Regions from separate parts of the Homo sapiens genome. Here region 2 is linked to region 1. The links are contacts of gene promoters, found by promoter capture Hi-C in blood cells and fetal thymus (Javierre and others, 2016). All regions are on one chromosome and are shown on one strand. Each heading gives the region's core, a stretch centred on a gene start or on the middle of the fragment in contact. The rest is flanking DNA. Distances are from core to core; before and after follow the strand shown.

Region 1 (5,233 bases), core at 1,069-3,568:
AGATAATTTCCCAGGGATTCTCGATTCATAAATGATCCACTCTCGACAGGATCCTCCACAACTGGAGACAACATCTAAAAGCCCATATTCAAGTGCATACAATTCAGGTTAACAAGGTATTTGTCAATAGTTCATCCTAGGCCAAACAATCCAGAAACAAGTACTCATCACCATAATTCAATTTCTGGAGAAGAACGGACTATAAAATTGGGCTCTATTTTCCAGTGAGAAAAAGCAGCAAAATAAAAGAAAAAAAAGAATTGGGCTCCATTCATTTTCCTAGAAACTAGATGCCTCCAAACATTCTCGTTTGCTTTGCTCCTGCCTAAAAAATAGTTCTGCAGAGGCACTGCTTTCAATACTTCATCATTAGTACTTATTAAAGACTGGGACATGTACGGTGGGGTGGGGAAGGGTTCATAAAGTAAAAATAAATTTTCTGAAGTTTGTATAGATAAAACATGCTGTTTAAAAACCTTTGTGCTTGACGGGTGTAGCAAAGTGAAATGTCTGAAATGTTCTTTACAATGAACTAAACTTGCTACCTTTCAGACCACACTACATCCACTTATGATTTCCAGAAAATACATACCTCCTTTGCACGCACTTCAATTACACAAAGACAAATTAATTTGATACTTCCAACCTTCTCTTACACACACACTACAATTCTGAAAGGAAACTGTCAAATTAAGACTGAGACAAACATATTCTGCTCTATCATCTTAAAATAGTGCGGTTAGAATTCCCAGTATTATACTGCAATTTACTTCCCTCGTTTTGAAATGTTACCATTACATCTTCCTTAAACTAAAAACAAAACATTAAGTTTACTATATACTTTATTAAACTTTTATAAAATACTAAAACTAGAGGAGAATTTGTAGAATATGAATGCCGTGATAAAAATCATTACACTTCGGCATTCTTCGGTCAAGAAGCCAATGTTAACTACGTAAACATTACTCCTTAACTAATGTTAACTAGAATAACCAATCATACGAGACTGCAGGTTTTAAACCTCTAGTGTTTCTCCCGCTTATTACCTCAAACTTATCTTCCTTCTCTCTTTTGTGTTGTCACGGTATATGGCAATTTCTGCTTTAAAATGTATGTATGCCTTAACCAGCCCTATGCGACTGCACATAACAAAAGACACGCTCCTGATCGGGTTTTAGAAAACCCACAGACCTGGGCACAAACCCCCGTTCCACGACCTACTAAACATACGCTATCTGAGCACAGGACATAGTTAAGAAAATTTTAAAAACAATTGAAAAAAGAATAAACATACAATGTCAGGAGAGTTTACTCATCTCCGTCTCTGCATCTACCTCCTAGGTTTCACTACCTACCTTCCAGTTTAGCCTTAGGATACGTACGCAAAACACCCGGTACATACATGGGTACTTTTCTTCCTTTTCGCATACTTTGAAGTGTGAAGTTTTCACTAACTACGTGCTCAAACGTCAGCTACATTCTATTCCTATCTGCAAAACCAATGTAATTAAATCTCAAGCGACCTTCTCAGACTCAAGTCTGAGACACGAACGAGCATTACCGTCTTTAAGTTTCTCTTTCCCGGACTTCCGGAGAAGGCTACCTCCGGAGAGAGGCGCCGGGAGGGTGAACAACCAGTGGCAGGGAGAGGCAGCTCGGCCCCACCGCCAACCTCAGAGGCGCGACGCCCGGCCCCATCCTCAACCCCACCGCTGCCCCCGCGGAAGGAAGCCACGTCCCCATTTCCGACCCCAAGTGAGGCTAGGAATTACGATGCACTTTTAAAAGGCACCTCGACTTGCAACACTTCGAGGGGGGCCCCAGCCCCGCAGCCACTGGGAACCGCGCGTCCGCTTCCCCCCAGCGCGCTCCCCACCCGGCCCGGCCACGAGTGGACTCCAGGCTGGCCGCCATGTTGCCGGAGTCGCCGCCGCACCCCGAGCGCGGCCCGCCCGCCCGACCGTGGCCCGAACCCGGGCCCCGCCCGCACGGCGAGGAGGCAGTGCGGCTCGGCTGGGCAGGGGAGGGCGGGAAGCCCACAGGGCCCGCGCCCACCTGGTGCCGGAGTGGTGACCAGCGGGAGGGACGTCACCGGCGCCGAGGTTACGTTGGAGATGGGCGCTAAAGTCGTCACGTTCGGGTGCTGGGTCGTGTTCTTGTCCGCGGACAGCACGCAGAGCACGCCCAGGCAGGTGGCGGCCCAAAGCAGTGAGCGGGAGAGCCGCGACATCGTGTCCTCAGCGCTGGCGTTCGGGAGAAAGCTAAGGCTCGCAACGCTCAGTCAACCCCTCAATCCCCTGCGGCGCCGCCTCCGAGACTACGCTCCCCCGCGGGAGCGCGCAGGGGTCACGTGAGAGGCCCCTGTTTTCGGCGTGCGGGGGCGAAGAGGAGGGAGGTGGGGCTCGGACGATACCAACGGGAATCCTACGGGGGGAAGCAGGGGAGTCGGGAGGAAGCCGAAGGAACCTGGCCCTCAAAGCGACTGTGCCACAGCCAAGAAAACTGGGAGCTTCTGCAAATCGTTCTTCTTGCCCTCAGATTACCAGACACGACGCAGCTGGACTTGTCTCATGCCTGCGATAGGGACGGCCCCCACCCTGACTTGCATGGAACAGTCGACATAATGTGGCCTACTGCTTCCACCTGAGCGCCCCGCCAGGCTGTAATTCCGCGGGCCCACGTGACCTCCGGGGCCGCGCCTTCCGGACGCAACTCCACTGGGGCGGAAGTTGGTTTTGTGCGGCTCTCAAGAACTAAGTTTGTGCTGTGCTGCGGGATCCCCAGGGAGCTTCCTTATATCTTCGGCAGGACCCCTTCTTTTTTTCTTGAAGATTGATTTTGCTAGAAGTTATCCTGTGATGGGACTCCCTAGGGGAATGGAGGCACCACGTGGTTAAGGAGTTTGTGCGTTGCCGCCCACATAGTGTGGGCAGCTGAGGCGCCGCCCGGATCAGAGCCGCAGGGCGTCTACTCTGTCACTTTCCCAACCTGACTTTTCCGGATTGCTATTTCAGACGGCGGTTGCAGCAGCCGACCTGTCTCAACTCCACCACTGTAGTCAGAGAATCAAAAGCGGTCTGAGTTGCGAGGTCATTGGGGAGGCCCCCACCCCCACATTACCAGTGAGGAAACTGAGACTTAAAAAAGTGACCTGACCTGGACACGGGATTGCCTGACATCAGAGCTGGATTCTTAAGTTCCTGTTAGTGTTAAGGCGCTGCTCAGACTTTTAGTAAAGGTGAGCGCCATCTACTGCCAAGTCTCACAAAATATTCGCAAAATTTGATACGGTTATCACATGGTAAAAATTAGACTTTAAAAGTTGTATTTAATGCTGTGTTTTCAGCTGTTGTACACTTATGTAATTTTAATTATGCAAAGTTATCCTAATAATATAGGAATATTAATTGCTTTCGTGAGGTCTGTCTTGATGTGCCACGATGACTTTTTTGATGTGCCAAAAAAGATGACTACATAGTGCTTTTACCTTTTTGCTCAAATAGAAAGATTTTATTTCCCCTTGGGATCTTTTCAGTGTCGTCCTTCTGTACCCTCAGGACTATGAACATTTGTTCCAATGACTACGCTAGTTGGAGTAGTGTTGCTTGGATGTAAACAAAAAGCTGATAGTTTTGACTGATCCAGCCCAGAAGCATGAGAATGCTGTCAGGGAAGTGAGCTCCCACCATAAGCCCTTCAGAGAAGTGTCTGCTCTTCTCTCAGGAGGCCTCTCTCTATATTTAACACTTGACTATCTGGCACCCAGACCAAATGAAAGCGCAAGGCAACTTTAATTTTTTTTTAAGGTTAAGAATGTAAATAGGGGCCGGACGCGGTGGCTCACGCCTGTAATGCCAGCACTTTGGGAGGCCAAGGCGGGTGGATCACCTGAGGTCCGGAGTTTGAGACCAGCTTGGCCAACATGGTGTAAACCCCGTCTCTCCTAAAAATACAAAAATTAGCCGGGCATGGTGGCACGTGCCTGTAATCCCAGCTACTAGCAGGGCTGAGGCAGGAGGATCGCTTGTATCCGGGAGGCGGAGGTTGCAGTGAGCCGAGATCACACCACTGCACTCCAGCTTGGGGAACAGAGCCAGACTCGTCTCAAAAAAAAAAAAAAAAAAAAAAATGTAAATAGAAGCTCTGTTCTCAGAGCTTGGTGTGTTATCTTCTTTCCACCCTAGGATAAACACACTCCTCTGTGCAGACCATTGTTTAACAATTTGTCACCTGGATGTTTAACTCTAGTCCTCAGATATTCCTCAGTCCTGATAAAGGGACATTTCACGCTCTTGTTTTAAGACTAGAAAACCATTGGTTTATTTTATTTTGCATGGCAACTGTAGAGGTAGATCAAGGGAGTTCCAAAGTCATTTTCACCATTTCAGAGAGACAGCTTTTTTTTTTTCAGTTCCTGACAGTAAGCTTCTGTTTATTGTTGTCATAGAGCAGGGTTTCTCAATCTTGGCGCTATCAAGATTTCAGGCTGACTCATTCTTGCTTGTCCTGTGCATTGTTGGATATTCGGCAGTATTCGTAGCCTCTACACACTAGATACCAGAAGCACCCCACCTCTCAGTTGTGACAACCAAAAATATCTCCCGATATTGTTAAATGTCTCCTGGGGGTAAAATCACAATTGAAAGGCACCCTCAGAGCGTTCTTCTGTGTGCAAGGTCAGCCATCACTCAGGTTATTTCCTCTTAGACACATTGCTTGCAATTAGATTGTCGATTGGTTGTTAGAGCGACCTTCTTAACCATTTATTTTCTTGAAAGCAGCAAGACAGAGTGCTTCTGCGCTTGTGAATCTTCTAGCAGTATAAGCTCCCTCTAAGTTTTTTAAACAGCAGATTTTTAAACAATGCTTCAGCCTTGTGTCAGTACCTTTCCCCAAATAAACAGATCAACACTCCAAACAGGACCCTGCCTTCTAGCTATAACTAACATCCAGTGGCCCCTTAATAATCAGAGGTTTGCCTCCACTACTTGATAGCAAGAAGTACAAACCCCCTTGTACTAGCTTATGTTAAAGGGAATCCATTCACTGTAAGAATATGACAGTAAATCTTATAGGCATTCAGGGGTGGGAAATCAAGTGTGTGAGGGCCAAGGGAGACTTGAACTTAAAAGGAGGAATCCCTAGCACGTGGAGCTGGTTTGCTAGGACTTCGTTTCAGGCTTCAACCCTACAGGACATTGCCAGATCTATAGACCCACAGCCAATCATCTCC
Region 2 (5,201 bases), core at 872-3,371, 1.0 Mb after region 1:
ACATTCATATAAATCTGCATAGGTCCTTGGACATCAGTTCTAAATAAATTTTACTCTATAAGAAGTATTTTTAACAAAAAATAGAGCTTTATGCCCTATGCCATTAATGCTGGACTTCCTAAGTAAGCCTACATGTTGCATCATTTCTTTTGTTGTTGGTGTTTTTTTTAGAGGTGGGAACTGGCACCTCTAAAAAATGTTACCCAGATTGCACTCAAACTCCTGGGCTCAACAATCCTCCTGCCTCAGCCTCTCAAGTAGCTGGGACTATAGGCATGCCACCGTGCTCAGCTTACATGTTACACCACTTCTAATGTTGAAAACAAAGAAATGTCTAATTAAACTTTCATGCAGTGGAAAAGTTATTTGAACCTGTTCTGTGCTTTGATCAACAGTCTCTCAGTCTCTTTGCTGTCATTTTATGTCATCTACAGGTTTGACTTGGGAATGGGGGTCCTGAGGGCATGGACACACTCGCTCACCAGCCTGGCGGCCTCCAGAGCAGTGCCCCAGTGCACTGAGATGCCCCCACTCCCATGGCCATAGTGGTGGACTACAGGCAGCCTCTGTCCATCTCGCGCAAGGAGCTCTGTCTGCAGTCGCACGCCTGGCCTGTAGGGCCTCAAGCCCACCTTCTCCCTGATGTTGCAGGCTCCGTGGAGGGAGGGCTCCAGAGCACAGCATCGGGAAAGAATCTCTCTGCTATTTTCTGCATCCGGGGACAGATTCCAGTCCCCTTTTTGCCTAGTTCCACCTAGGGTTACATGGGATGTACCAGGATAAATATATGTCAGCCCACTGCCATCTCGGATAAAATGCTCCACCCAGGGAGCCTGAACTTGGAGGACTTGGCCCCTTACAGGGAAAATCTTTGAGTCTCCTGCAAGCTGTCTGCTTCCAAGGCCTGAACAGTTGACCACGATGTCAAAGGACGGATGAAGTTCCCACAGGTCTTCTATTCGCCGAGTGAGTGTCCAGCCTCCACTTCCCTTTATCCTACGGAAGAGAGGCCATGAAGTGAATATTTGTTAGCGACCTGATCAACTACTTCCAGGAAATAAAGAAAAGGAACCCAGGAACAAAAATTAGGTGATGATCTGATGAACAAACACCTCAGGAGCTTCCAGGGCCCAGTCAGGCCAAATTCTAGCCATCAACTGCTTCACATCCTAGGAACTGGGGATTTCTAAAGTTGAATCTAAATGGAAACCACTTGAAAATTCAAAACAAAGGAAATTATATGCTTTGCCCTTTTAAAATTTTGTAAAATTCCTACATTATTCTAGATGCTGAATAAATGCCAAGTTGATTTGGTATTTTAAATGTCCAAGCATTTCTTATTTATACCACTTATTTAACACCTAAATTTACTACCTTAAACATTTTATCTCATATTGTTAACTCTTGCATGATCCTTTGTATTAGCCTGGTCTCCCTAACTAAAAGGTACAGGGGTCATATCCCCACCAGCTTTATGTCCACAACTATGTTAGCACGAGAAGAACACAAAATATTTGTAGCTGATGAGCTAAATGGCAGCTGTGGTTGGTAATTACTATATTTTTTGGACCAACTATATCAATAGTGAAAAGAAATGGTTTATCCAGTACCTGTAGTCTTTATTTAAATCAAGGTAAAATACACTTAACATAAAATTTATCATTTTGACGATTTTTAAGTGTAAAGTTCAGTAGTATTAAGCACATTTACCTTGTTGTGCAACCGCCATCACCATCCATATGCACTATCCATCTTCAGAATATTTTTTTTTTTTCTGAGATGGGGTCTCACTCTGTCACCCAGGCTGGAGTGCAGTGGCGTGATCTCAGCTCACTGCAGCCTTGACTTCCTTGGCTTAAGTGATCCTCCCACCTCAGCCTCCTGAGTAGCTGAGACCACAGGTGTGTGCCACCATGCCCGGCTAATTTTTTTGTATTTTTGATAGAGACAGGGTTTTGCCATGTTGCCCAGGCTGGTCTGCAACTCATGAGCTCAGTCGATCCACCTGCCTCTGCCTCCCAAAGTGCTGGGATTATAGGCATGAGCCACCGTGCCTGGCCTCCAGAACTTTTTTAATCTTGCAAAATGGAAAGTCTACCCAATAAACAATAACCCCCAGGACATGTAATCTTATTCACAGGTCACTTGTAGAATAGAGAAAGAGACTATCAGCAGCTCTGTTCAATAGACGCAGGCCGAATGCTTGCATGCGGGGCACTGCTAAGAGGGACCAGAAGGGTGTGAGTGACAGTGCCCTTCGTCAAGGGCTGACAGAGGAACTGGCAGACAGAAGTGTAAATGCTTGGCAGAATGGACTAAGTTCTACAGGAGAAGTGGTGTGAAATCAGAAAGCCTGGCTTTATATCCCAGCTCTGCCTCACATTAGCTTTGAGCTCTTGGCCAACTCACCTCACTTCAAATCTCAGTTTCCTCATCTGCATCATGGGGAGGATACCTCCCTTGCCTGTCTCACAGGATGGTTGTGAGGTTACAATAAAATAATGGCCACAACTTTGAACAGTCGTCAATCACAATACATCTTAGAGGACCGATATCAATAAATCACGAATTCCTCAAGGGGAGAGACTGTATCTTATGTTTCTTACCATCCCTATGACCTAGCTAAGTGCCCCACACCAAGTGGACTGGAAGTAAGTGTTAGCCAATACTAAAGACAATATGAAATCCTGGTTTGGACCTGCTATGGTTAATTTATGTGTCAACTTGATTGGGCTATGGGGTGCTCAGATATTTGGCCAAACATACTCCGTGTATTTCTGCAGAAAGTGTTTTTGGATGAGAAAAACATTTAAATCAGTGGGCAGAGTAAAGCTAATTGCCTTCTTTAATGTGGGTAGGCCTCATCCTATCAGTTGAAAGCCTGAATAAAACAAAAAAGTTGACTCTTTTCCAAGGAAGAAAGAATTCCTTCGCTGGACTGCCTTCCAACTGGGACATTGGCTTTTTCCTCTTTTTGGACTGGAACAAAAACATTGGCTCTTCTTGAGTCTCAAGCCTGCTGGCCTTTGGACTAGAGCTACACCATTGGCTCTCCTGGGTCTCCTGCTTGCCTGCCAACTCACCCTGCCGATCTTACACATCCTATTCATTCTTTTTGTCTGGAGAGAGATACAGGGTGGCAGAACTTTGGCATCTTCTCTCTCTGACTGCCGCAATCCAAGCCGTTTCAGGGAGAAACTGGGAAGGGCTGACCTTGAAAATGGAGGCAGAATGCTTGTATCCTGCATGCCCCTAAGAGAGCAGAAGTGATCATCACAGCAGTTCTGAGCGCTATCTACTTTCAAGGCCAGATAAACAGGTTTAATGTGAAGGAAAATAATAAAAAAGACAGAAACTTCTGCAATGGTGGTCAATGATGGCATGGGTTTGACAACTAATTTTAACTTAGCAAGGAGGGACTCTTTGAAGTGATTCTAACTTTCCGCCCCACTTCCTGGTTGGAAAGTTTAACTGCAACTTGTGTTAAGATCAGCAGAAAACTGGCCTTCTGATGCTGGATTGCATTTCTAGAAAATGTCTCATGTTCATGGTGGTGCATGCCTATAATTCCAGCTACTCAGGAGGCTGAGATGGGAAGATCCCTTGAACCGAGGAGGTGGAGGTTCAAGCCGAGATCCCGCCACTGCACTCAAGCCTAGGAGACAGAGCAAGACACCAACTCAAAAAAGAAAGAAAGAGAGAAAGAGAGAGAATGCCTCACGTTGATGAGCATGGAAGAGACCAAGATTGCTACTCAATGGCATCTTAGACCCTGACCCCAATAGCTCAGCTTCCTATTCCATCAAGTACAAGCCACAGGCTGTCATCTCAGCATCTTTGCAGTTCTCTGCATCTGACTGAAGGTCAAGCTGCTGGGCAGAGCTCCATCTGCTCAGTCTCTTCACACTCCCTCCCTCTGCAGAGACCTCTGAAGTATGTCCACCGAGCAGTTTCAAGAACAGTTTGAAACCTCTGGATTAGACTCACTGATTATTCAACAAGTATTTGTTGAGGGCTTGTACTGTGCCCAGCACCCTTAGGAGGCAAGAAGAACTCAGAGGCTATGCTTGCTCTGAGATCACATGAACCTGCACTGCACTTCCTATTAAATGCAAGCTGCATTGCCAGCATCAATGCTTCAAACAACAGAACCTAAATTCGGTTGCTTTTTATTCTAAAAATCCAAGGAAGGGAGTATATTGTTTACCTGAGACAAGGAAACCAAAGAAAAGAATCTGGCAAGCATCTACACTTTGGGGCCACAGAGAACCAATAAAGCCAATGGATTACTTTTTGATGTAATTAAAAGTAGTTAAAAGAGAGAGAATGAAGCTGGAGCTACTGTTTTGTTTGTTTGTTTGTTTGTTTGTTTGTTTTATAAGTAAAACTGTTCATAGATAAAAAGTACTAAATATAGCAAATTTTATGGGGACAGATTGTTTTTGGCTCTCTCAGTAAGAATAACCAATTTAGAAGCTTAAATTATGTTCTTAAACATGTAATAATAGATAAATGTTTTTAAAGGTAAAATAACTGTAAAGGTTGTTTTTCCCCTTAACATTGGCATAGAAAGAAAAGTAAATTGGAGTTTTGTAGTAATACTGAGCAGCATGTTTCTGTGTGTTTATAATCTTCCAAAAAGTGAACACGAAGAAAAGAACTTTAAAAAGAGCTTAGGAGGCCTCTACCCTTTACCATTCATATGACCTCGGCCAAGTTATTCCACTTCTCTAAACTTTAATCTTATATCCATAATATGGGGGTAGTAATACTGACTCTCTAGGCTCGTTGTGAAAATGAAATGAGACACATCTGGAAAAAGCATAACACTGTGTCTAACACACTATAGCTGCTCAATAAAGACCTTTTATTTTTAAAAAAGTGCTTAGGGGTTTTTCATGCTACTGTAAAATACAAGACCCAGTGCATTATCTATGTGTATTCTTATCCTCCATACCTGTATATCACTTATGTTTCATTAAGGATGATATTTCAATTTTGAAAAGTTTTAACTGATCATTATTTGAATATTATTTTGATTTTGTGGGTTTTTTAAATTCTTACATTGTAGATTCCATGTGTTAATATTTGAACATTATGTTCTGTGCTCTAGATATCCTAATTAATTAAAACTCAGAATTATTTTCATAATTTGGGGGAATAAGAGAATCTGCCAGCCTTGGGATATCAGCAGATTTTTA

Evidence for each region. Contacts are between HindIII fragments. The CHiCAGO score rates a contact against its expected background, and 5 or more counts as called.
Region 2: a fragment that was not itself captured here is called in contact with the fragment with the promoter of CD164 in region 1 in 1 of 17 cell types (naive CD8 T cells); the score reaches 5.1 in naive CD8 T cells.

What each region holds. Positions count from the first base shown.
Region 1 is chr6:109,380,149-109,385,381 of GRCh38, forward strand. CD164 (CD164 molecule) reads right to left here and starts at 2,319. Exons shown (of 6, transcript NM_006016.6): 1 at 2,056-2,319. The coding sequence starts at 2,230. RefSeq lists a silencer at 1,777-2,056 and enhancers at 2,212-2,721, 2,277-2,626, 2,707-2,936. The HindIII fragment of the contact is 6,848 bases long and covers 1-4,423 here.
Region 2 is chr6:110,392,347-110,397,547 of GRCh38, forward strand. DDO (D-aspartate oxidase) reads right to left here. Exons shown (of 5, transcript NM_001372108.2): 5 at 1-996. The coding sequence ends at 429. Among named protein-coding and RNA genes, the nearest start is that of DDO, 21 kb to the right of the region's middle. The HindIII fragment of the contact is 4,706 bases long and covers 1-4,474 here.